Linked DNA regions of Homo sapiens: regions 2 and 3 are each linked to region 1. Evidence: promoter capture Hi-C in 16 types of primary human blood cells and fetal thymus (Javierre and others, 2016). All regions are on one chromosome and are shown on one strand. Each heading gives the region's core, a stretch centred on a gene start or on the middle of the fragment in contact. The rest is flanking DNA. Distances are from core to core; before and after follow the strand shown. Region 1 holds the start of LSM8 (LSM8 homolog, U6 small nuclear RNA associated). Region 2 overlaps ST7 (suppression of tumorigenicity 7). Region 3 overlaps ST7 (suppression of tumorigenicity 7).

The links. Contacts are between HindIII fragments. The CHiCAGO score rates a contact against its expected background, and 5 or more counts as called.
Region 2: a contact is called between a fragment that was not itself captured here and the fragment with the promoter of LSM8 in region 1, in 1 of 17 cell types (monocytes). The highest score is 7.0, in monocytes.
Region 3: a fragment that was not itself captured here is called in contact with the fragment with the promoter of LSM8 in region 1 in 2 of 17 cell types (activated CD4 T cells and total B cells); the score reaches 6.7 in activated CD4 T cells.

What each region holds. Positions count from the first base shown.
Region 1 is chr7:118,182,760-118,185,834 of GRCh38, forward strand. LSM8 (LSM8 homolog, U6 small nuclear RNA associated) reads left to right here and starts at 1,405. Exons shown (of 4, transcript NM_016200.5): 1 at 1,405-1,495; 2 at 2,895-2,935. The coding sequence starts at 1,465. LOC105375470 (a long non-coding RNA gene) reads right to left here and starts at 1,209. Exons shown (of 4, transcript XR_927904.3): 1 at 1,156-1,209. The HindIII fragment of the contact is 4,305 bases long and covers 1-2,481 here.
Region 2 is chr7:117,147,221-117,150,773 of GRCh38, forward strand. The region is part of intron 9 of ST7 (suppression of tumorigenicity 7); the gene reads left to right. Among named protein-coding and RNA genes, the nearest start is that of ST7-AS2, 3.4 kb to the left of the region's middle. The HindIII fragment of the contact is 858 bases long and covers 1,158-2,015 here.
Region 3 is chr7:117,129,420-117,132,700 of GRCh38, forward strand. It overlaps ST7 (suppression of tumorigenicity 7), which reads left to right. Exons shown (of 16, transcript NM_001369598.1): 4 at 374-428; 5 at 1,072-1,187; 6 at 2,466-2,541. The region is part of intron 2 of ST7-AS2 (ST7 antisense RNA 2); the gene reads right to left. Among named protein-coding and RNA genes, the nearest start is that of ST7-AS2, 15 kb to the right of the region's middle. The HindIII fragment of the contact is 1,301 bases long and covers 698-1,998 here.

The DNA.
Region 1 (3,075 bases), core at 155-2,654:
AGCAATTTCTTTTTTTAACAAAACTCCTAACACCTCGTTAATCATTAATTAGTCTTTGGGTTTTGGTTCAACACCTAACATTTGCAAATCACACAATTATCTTTGTTCTTTCATTAGCGGAAGACACTTTCATTTGTTACCCTGAGAATATGAGACATTCACAATCTAATTCCTGACTACATTTGATTTCAAACAGATAGGAATAAGTTCCAGAATATAAAATATTAACTATTTGGGAGTATCTTGTGGGTATGCTCTAATTAAGAAATGCTTCCTTTTCCGAGGAAAACTGCTGACATTGCAAGAGTTATTACAAAGCCACAAATCTTAAGAAAATACATGTTTAACTGAAATTATAAAGATATTTTGCAAAAAAGGGAAATCGCTCCTGCTGGTGTTTTGTGTATAAATCTCTTTCTAACTTCAAGCTCTCTCAAGTTAGGGCAACAGTAAATGAAGTGGGAACAGTATCGCATTGGGAAATATCTGAAATGATACCTATGGGACTATCTAACGAAACTGAGGCCCAGAAGAATTGAAGTGACCTGTGCAATGACACCAATTTGTTAGCAGAGCCAAGATTAGAACCAAGTTTGGTGCCTTCCTGCATCCTTCCTGCATCGGTCCTTTCTCGGTGCTGCAGCAGCCTTTTACTTACTAATTTCACCCTGAAGAAAGGTAGACCATCCTGGCGTGGCAGAAGCGTGGACATTCGTTTTCTAAGGGATGGTCACACACCTTTGCCTATTTGCATTTAGTTTCTTTAAAAAGTAAAAACACCTCCATTTTGGAACACTTTTAGAGACAAAAGCAGAACATACGAAAGTGTATTTCACTGCTGAGTTCTTAAGAGGCGTACACCGTGTGGTTATAACGTGCGCAACTCTGTCCCGGGCAACTGAACTTATTTTTAGCGTTATTTTCGGCTTCTGCTGCAGAAAACTAGGGATTCAACTACCCGCACCTACGTTTCACACAACAGCACTCGTCTCTCTCCTTCACTCCTAATAAAAACACCTTACTTCGTTTATTCCTGCCTGCTCTACCTCGTCTCAACATTTTCTCTTGTTAACTTCCACCACACTGCCTTTTACTCGGATTGGAAACCCACTCTCCCCCAACTTCTGTCTCATACCCCCAACTTCTGTCTCATACCCCCAACTTCAGGAAGCGTCTTCCTTTTTTCCGCCTCTCGTTCGCTTTTGTCTTACGAGGCTTCCGGAACACGGCCCAGAATTACAGAGAAAACACACTGCGCACGCGCACTCTCTCGTCACCGCTGTGCGGCTTCTGTTTGGTTGGCCAGTTCGTCCCAATTTCCGACTCACAGGGCTGCGGAGCAGCAACTCTCACGATATTTGCTGCGACCCGCAGGCGCTATCCGCTGCCGGGTTCTGGCGCGCCCTTTCAGTTCTGCTTGCTGTCGGCACCGCTGCGTTACCCGGAACCGCCGGGCCGAACAGCATGACGTCCGCTTTGGAGAACTACATCAACCGTATCCTCAAGCTGGCCGCCGCGGGCGTGAGCCGGGGTCGCGGAGAGGCCGCGGTCGGGGATCGGTGGGAGGTTGGGAGGCCTGGCCTCGGCGGGATCCTGGGGGCGGGCGAGGAGATGAGGGCCCCGGAACGACCCAGAGTTCGCCGGCGGCGCCTCGAGCCTTCCCGCTGCTGCGGGCCCAGGGGTCCTTTCCATTTTGCCTGCAAAACCCAAATAAAAACCCAGTGTGATTATTCCGAACTTTTCTGTCTTAAAAAAAATGTACGCTCTTGATTCTTACTTACTATTTCCCTATGGCATAAGTGTTAAAGTTTGTGAATAAGATGAACAGTCGTCCTGGCGGCGACAACAGTTTTGCAAATCTTTGTACTTGTTTTATTCACATAATTTGCTCGTTCGAGGATAGCAAAAAGTTTAACGATGGTTCACAGACTGTTTCTGTCCCTTTACCACTTGAAGTCCCAACTTGTTGGTAGAATGAAAAAAAATGGTTGCTGTTGTAATGGATTATAGTGAGGAGCAAGTAACAACCCCATGGGAAGTCTTAAAATAGACTTTACAAGTGTTACCGTTTTAAAGTCTTAGGACAAAAACACTACGTTAAGCTCAGGTACAAACTGGGTGACAAAAATTAAATACCGAATGCTTTTAATGATGCGTTATTGGTACCCTGTGACACTGCTTATATAGTTTCTTTACTTTTGAATTACAGAAGCCTGTCCTGGAAGACAGTTTTTTAACATGCTGGAAAATCGTCCAACATCGATTAATTTAGTACTCATCCACTTTTCATTTTAGAAATAAACAGGCCTAAGAAACGAAATATCCTGCCTGAAATAATAGATTGGTAACCTTCCTAGTAGAAAAGTGTCAAAAATCCAGGATATTTTGAGATAAGATACACCGATCACATACAGAAAGAGGTTTTCTTTTTCTATTTTTTCCCTTTTTTAATCATGTAATTATCACAAAGACAAAAACAGAAGCTTTTTTTAAGTTTTTTTTTTTTTTTCTTTTTTTGAGTCGAGGGTCTCACTCTGTTGCCCAGGCTGGAGTGCAGTGGCTTGATCATGGCTCAATGCAACCTTGAACTCCTGAGCCCAAGCAATCCTCCTGCCTCTGCCTCTGCCTCCTGAGTAGCTGGGACTATAGGTCACCAGGCCAGGGTAATAGAGATGGGGGTATCGCTGTGTTGCCCAAGCTGGTCTCACCTCAAGTGATCCTCCTGCCTTGGCGTCTAAGAAACTTTTAACGTTTTTATGTAGTGAACTTAGTGGCTGTGTTGAATACTTATACCTAGTTGTCATATTTATTCTAAAAATTCAAATCATTCCCTTGCCAGAGTCTGTTTTCAATTTGCATTCCCTAAGAAACACTTTCTTTGATTCAGTTATCAGGAACTGTTGCCGTTATTACATCAGATGGGAGAATGATTGTGGTAAGTCTTTGGAATTTTCATTCTCTGCTTTCCTGTAGGTTTATTGGTTGCAAGTTTTATGTGAAACCTCTAATCTCTAATGCCTAGACAGCACATTACACCCGTAGTGCAATTTTATTATAATTCAGCTCTTTATCACT
Region 2 (3,553 bases), core at 337-2,836, 1.0 Mb before region 1:
CTTTCCTCTAGTGAAGGAACTCCAGGTTTCTTCCAACTTCCTGTTATCCCAGCAGTGCTGCAATGAACATCCTTGTAGACATGTGAGAAACATTCATTAGGCTGTGGGATTATATACGTGCTAGATTCCAGTGAGTCCTGCAATTTCACTCTTCAGAATGGCTGCCTATGATTAAATTCTTACGAGCAATACCTGACTATGCCCATGTATCTCAGTACTAGGCTCTGCTTCAAGCACGTCTATATTTAATATACATATTTATATATTTTAAAAATTTATTACATATAGCTTTTCATGATGTTATTTCATAATTTAAAAATACTATGTAGTTTTTTTCTTCCTTTTCATTTTGTATTTTATTTGGCTAGTTTTTACTCTTATTTTGCCTGATTAGTCTTGGCAGAGGTTGTCTATTTTGCCAGTCTTTTAAAAACAATTAGGTTTAGTTTATTTCCTCAACTTTTTTGTTTTTATTCTGTTTTTTCTTTCCATATTTGTATTATTGTTTCTTCTCCTCCTCATCCTTCTCCCCCTCTATCCTCTGTGTTTGTTGCCTTTTTACCATTTGATCCTAAGCATTTTTAAATTTCTTTTAAATTTCATTTTACCCTGTATAGTATGTTTTACCCCTCGTCATTGATTGATTTTTTTCTTTACATTATGCTTAGAAAGCATACATCATATGATATTGATTTGGGGAGAATTTATGGTCACTTCCCCTGAGGCCTAGCATATGGTCAGGTTTAATAAATGTTATATCTGTGTTTGAAGGGAATATAATCCCTGTTGGGTATAAAGATTTGTATGTATTTACTAGTTTGAGCTTATAAACCATATTATTCAAATCTCATATATCAGCTTATTTTGTCTCTTTGCTCTATCAGTTTCTAAGAAGAATGTGATAGAATATTCACCTCCAACTGTTTATTAATCTGTTTTTTGCATGCTCAGTTATTTGTTCCTTTATATATTTTGAGGTTTTGTTGTTGGGTGCGTTTATGTTGGTGATTATTATGACTTACTGATATGTTATTATGAGTATATAATGTCTCTTATATTTATCTTCCTTGAATTTTTTAACATATGTTAAGAATACCTACTCTAACTTATTGTGATTCATATTTAACTGGTTTATTGTTGTCTAAATTTTATAATCAAGCTTCCTATAAGTTTTTGATGGATCATTTGGATCTGTAAAATTTTTGATGAATATTGTCTTTATTCAAATCTGAGGGTTTTATACTTTTGATTGCTATGTTTATCCCATTCGTGTTTATAGAGAGTAACAGAATAATTACTGCTTTTTTTGAGCGTGTGTGCTGTCTTTCATGTTTTCTATGTCGTACTTTCTCTCCCATTGAAAATATCTTCCACTGATTCAACATTTTAAATTTCTGTTTTATTCTTCTGATATTCCCAACTCACTAAGATCCATACTTATATTTATGGTTCTTGATCAGTTACTAAGCCTATCACTATGTCAATATCTATAAATTATTCCCAAATGATAGAATTAATTTAGCATATGGTGCCCTGCTTCCCACCCTAAATCAGGAGGCAACCATGGACATTTGTGAACAGCTTTTCCTTCTGTGAGATGTGTGGGGAGCACTGATGTCTGAGTTTCTGCTGGGCTGGCAGGGTTGCTTCTGTGAGCAGAAGCCAGTGAAGTTGTTGATTTCTAGGGTAAGCAGAGAGGTGATCACTGGAAACAGACTTATTTCAGACCTGGGCCACCAGGAACAGAAACCAGAAAACAGGCAAAGCCAGCAATGCATGCGATGACCAGGGAGGACAATGAATTGGGTCTCCTGGGTTTCCCTTTTAAATAATCAATGCAAAAGCGTTGATCATATCCTTCTTCCTGGACCGCTATCTCTACTGCTTGTTAAGAGCAGATACCCTGGTTAGCCTTTGCCCTCTCCTTGGGCCTGGGGAAGTTACCTTTGTGACTCAAGAATCCTCAGGTACACAAACCTGCTTTCTGGGACCTCCCACTGAGCCATTTAAATACAAGCTTAGGCTCTAGTAGGACATCTTTACTCTTTCACCAGTAAAATCATTACTGCCTAAACAGAGTAAAGATAGTTACCACCGACCTTCCTACCCCTAAACACCCATTTCTTTAAATCAGGTGGGCTGTCCTTACAGCTTAATGTATCACTGTCCCATTTTCCACTCTTGATTCATGATTTCTTATTGTTCCATGGAGGGTCAGGAGGGGCCCTTCTCAAGTTTTCATTGGAGAGATGCTCTCTGCTCCTACTCTGATGGGCTCCTCTGGCATTTAGGTGTGTAGAGGTATTCTCACCCTCCAATTTTTGCTATATGCAAGTATTTCATTTTATCACCTTGACTGTCCGTGTCCTACCTTTTTTTTTTTTTTTTTTTTTTTGAAGGCATTGTTTTTTGAGCCCATTGACATTTTATTCTAATTTGGATGGATAGCTGTGGTTTTTTTGTTTTTCTTAAAACTTGGTTCTGCTTCTTTTACTGTGTCTTTCCTCCTTTTTCTTTTTTTAATTGGAGGAACTTACTTCAGAAGTCTAGTTATCCTTGGCTAAATGTTAACATTTAAAACCAAGCACCAAAAAGCTTTTGGAGGCTGTATGTTTCTATCTAGGGATGATTGCCTGATAGGGTTTACTTGTGGTTGCCCGGGCAACTGGCTTATCATTTAATCACACACTGCCCTCAAATGTCAGTACCTGGATCTTTTTTTCTGTGGTGGTTCATTTCCTCCATGGAAAGATCGTCAGGTCTTTTCCTTGTGGACTATACACCTGACTGCCAGTGTTTCTGGGATCAGGTTGGGAGACAGAGCTGTGTCGTTCATTATCCAGACTGTCACCTTAATTATTCTGTTGTTAGCACCAGGCCTCGCTCAGTCCCTCACTCTGCCTGATATCCCTGGTTTCGTGGTTGTCTGAGGTGGGAAGGAGAAACTGGAGTGTCTAGTCACTATGGGTATAGACTTAAACCCAGTCTTGTTCTCTGGCTTCTTCTGTGCCTCATGCCTTCAAGTGCTGAGGTCCTCAGGGATTCTGTTTCCTTTTTGTTTGAATCTCTCCCTGAAAGTATTTTAGGAGGTAATGTTGTCCACTCTTTTCATGCAGTTACCCATATTCCATAAGCTTTACATTGCCTAAAAATTCTTCATAGTGTTCCATCTTCTCTTGACTCTTCTGTTTCTGGTTTTAGCTTTTTTAAGCTCTTCAGGTGGCCAGTTTGGCATTTCAGTTGTAACCTCTTTTCAGTTACTTCCCTCCTGGAACACTCTTTCCTGCTGTCTGGGTCTCTCACTTGTGTAATTTCTCTTCTGCCTCTCCATCTGCTCCTTCTCCATCTTTTCCCTGGCTCTTCCTGCCTGCAGCTTCTCAGTGCTGGAGGGCTGCAGCCTCTGCCTGGGCCTCCATTCTTCCCTGTGACACTCCCTTTCCAGCCGTCTCACTTGGCCATCAATTCTAAATACAGGCTGTAAGGTAATGACTCCTATAGTTGTATTTCCCTCTTCTCTGTTGAACTCCAGATTTATATTCATTTGCCTACCTGA
Region 3 (3,281 bases), core at 98-2,597, 1.1 Mb before region 1:
TTTAGACTGACAGAAAATAGTTTTACTTCTGCCTATACTTTTATCTATAAGGTTTTAGAAGTAAATTCATAGAATCAGTTTGGACCTCTTGAAATAATTTTAGGAGTTATGAACTAGCTGATTTTGGCATGCATCTTGATTTGGCAAGTGAGGAAACTCAGGCCCAGAGAGATTAGGCAAAACTTTCCAAAGTCCCGGAGCCTGAGCCACATTTTGTGATTAACCACCCAGAGTTTTTCCACATTGCTTCCCATGTAAAGGGTAGTGAATAGAATTATCTTATCAAATGGCAGGAAGGGTGTTTTGCTGAATTAATTAGCTTGTAGTGTCACTGAACTTACGCGTAACATTTTCATATTTCTCTTTGTTGCAGAATGCAAAGTATGGCGAAATCCACTAAATTTATTTAGGGGTGCTGAATACAATCGGTAAGCATTTTGACAGCTTGGGAAACAAATGGGTCTGGTTCAGAGAGCAAAGACAGCAGCAAATGTTTTTGCTGGTTCATTTAGGGGTCATTGTAACAGTCTATGTAGTGCGTCCATTTTTTAATACTATCTTCAAATGTTTTGATTTTTCTGTTTTATAAATATTTTAGCACTAGATTTGGGATAATGTACAAAAATGTGTAGTTTTTAGAGTTTTTGTATTAACAGTTATTCTTTTCAATATATACTATACATTGAAAACATTTTGAAGCTTACCTGGAATATGGTTATAGAGATGTCGCAGAAGTTATGTTGGAATTTAGTTTAGCAAAGTAATTAGGCAAATTAGAATTTTCATAGCTTTAGGAAAGTGTCTATTCATAATATGAATTAGGGAAGGTTTTCATTAGCAAGGGCTAGTAAATTTTAAGACAAAAACACAGGAGAAAATGTTTATTTCTTTTGACTGATATAATTCCTGAAGGGAGAATAAGATGATTTTTAAAAATTTTTTTTATTCATTAGCAAAGCTATTTTAGTATTCAGTTAATGGTCTATATTTCAACGCCTCTGCAGCTTAATATTTTATAGGTCTTGCTTTTCTCTCTCAAAAGTGTCTAATCATCTTATTTCTCCTTTGCAGGTATACTTGGGTGACAGGACGAGAGCCTCTTACTTACTATGACATGAATCTCTCTGCCCAAGACCACCAGACATTCTTTACTTGTGACTCGGACCATCTGCGTCCCGCAGATGCAAGTATGAAAAATCCATACATCCTTCTGAATGGGAGGGCTTTTTGGCTTAAGTGTCAAGATTTCTGCTTTTAGAATATCCACTCTGTAAAACTCCAATGAATAAAATATTAAATTGTTGATTGACTAATAAGAACCCAGAACTCTGATAATTAAGTAAACCTTTATCACAATGAAGTATTTATGTTGAAATGAGTCCCCTCATAATAATTTGAATCATGATTTTTAAAAATATATCGAAGTTGGTTTTATATATTTTAAAGAAATATGAATCTTATATGAAGCTAATGAAGTTCTTGGTTGAGTTAGCATGAAGGCCTTATCTCCTTTATGATATTCAAAGTAGAAATTGGAATTTACTGGATTCAGATGATTAATGAATATATTTTAGTGACTTTTATTTGCCTATTTATAGGTTAACTAGCATCGAATGGGGTCATGGCCTTGGCTATTGGAGTCTAGATGTGTGTTCCATCTGAGAAAATACTTTGTTTAGTGTGTATTTTACATTACTTGAGTTTCAGATAATTCAACTGAAATTTTTTGTTATAAAATTTATTCAAAGTAAATAGGTGAAAAAATGTTTTTGAAAGGGAACCTCTACACACTCTAAAATAATTTATAAAATACAAATTTATAAAATAAATAAGGAGATTGTTACTCCTTTGTAAAATGGTACTCTTTGCTATGGTAGAAACATCATGGTACAGTAAATATTCCCATTGAGCTTCCCACCATATGTTCAGAAACTGCTCTGATGTATAAAAGCTAGGTTTGCAGGTAAATTTGGGATATAAGTACACATGTTAAGCAAAAGCTTAAGCATTTTTTACTGACCCACGCATAATTCTTGAAATGGTTTCAGAATGTTCTAACACCAAGAGTCTGTGTTAAGTGCTTCGGAAAATGACCAATTATGTTGTATCTAAGTGAATGAAAAGGTTGGTAGCAATGTCATCTCAAAATGCATAAAATATATTCTCCAAGAACAAATGACATTAATGTGCAAAAGACACGCAAAATCTCTGTTAGAGTGCCTTTTCTTGATTTCCTTAGCCTGTAGTTTTGTGAGCACAAAAAAGGTTTGCTATCAGCAGTTGAAATACTGTGGAATAGCACATTAATACACTAATATGACTTTGGAGATTTTGGCCAACCCTCTTAGCAATGAAATATGTTCTTGTAATTTAAGCTGACACTCCTAATTTAGCTCTTGTCCTCTACTGAGTCTACCTAATTATATGTATGGATTGACTTGGTGTTTTCTCTTTTTCTTAAATAGTAATGCAGAAAGCCTGGAGAGAGAGAAACCCCCAAGCTAGGATTTCTGCAGCTCATGAAGCCTTGGAGATAAATGAGTAAGTGGGGGAAAATCTTGCTGTTAAAAAGGAAATCTCATCCTTTGCTGAATATATTCAGTTGCCATTGATAGGATACTTAAATTAAACTGCATTTGAACTGGAGGATTATTTGGGGAGTTATTACTCTATTTAAAAAAGTTTTTTTTTTAAATGAAGGACAGCCACCATGTGGAGGTGGTTTTAGTCATTTTATGAATTCAATGGCTTTGCTGTGATCCTAAATTAATTTCTTGAAGGGCTATCCCTAGGATATTGTGAGGATATAAAATAAATACAATTCTTTACATATCTAAAACATTCTGACAGGGAAAATTTTCCAGATGTAGAATGCTCATCTGCACTAGAACATTTTCTAGTAGAACTTCTGCTAGTGGGGAAAACATGATAACAACATAAGGTTTAAAAAAAAAATTTTAGAAAATACTTCAAGATTAAGACAAAGATAAGAGGAAATGCTGTCTTGAGTGTTGTTAAACATTCTGTGGGTTACCAAGGAAGGCTGGGAAATCTCTTCTGGAGATCTCAGAAAATGAGAAAGATTCTTAAAGTTGGAGTCATAAAAACTCAGGGTTGGCAGAGACCTTAAAGGTCACTTAGCTGAACCACCCATCTGGTGCTTGAATCACCTCAACACTATCCTTGCCAAGTGGTCATTGTTAAACTATTTTATGATTTTTCTGAAGAAGGTTACAGAATCTTCTTCAGAGATCTTAGGGAAAAAAAAAAAAGATTGTCGT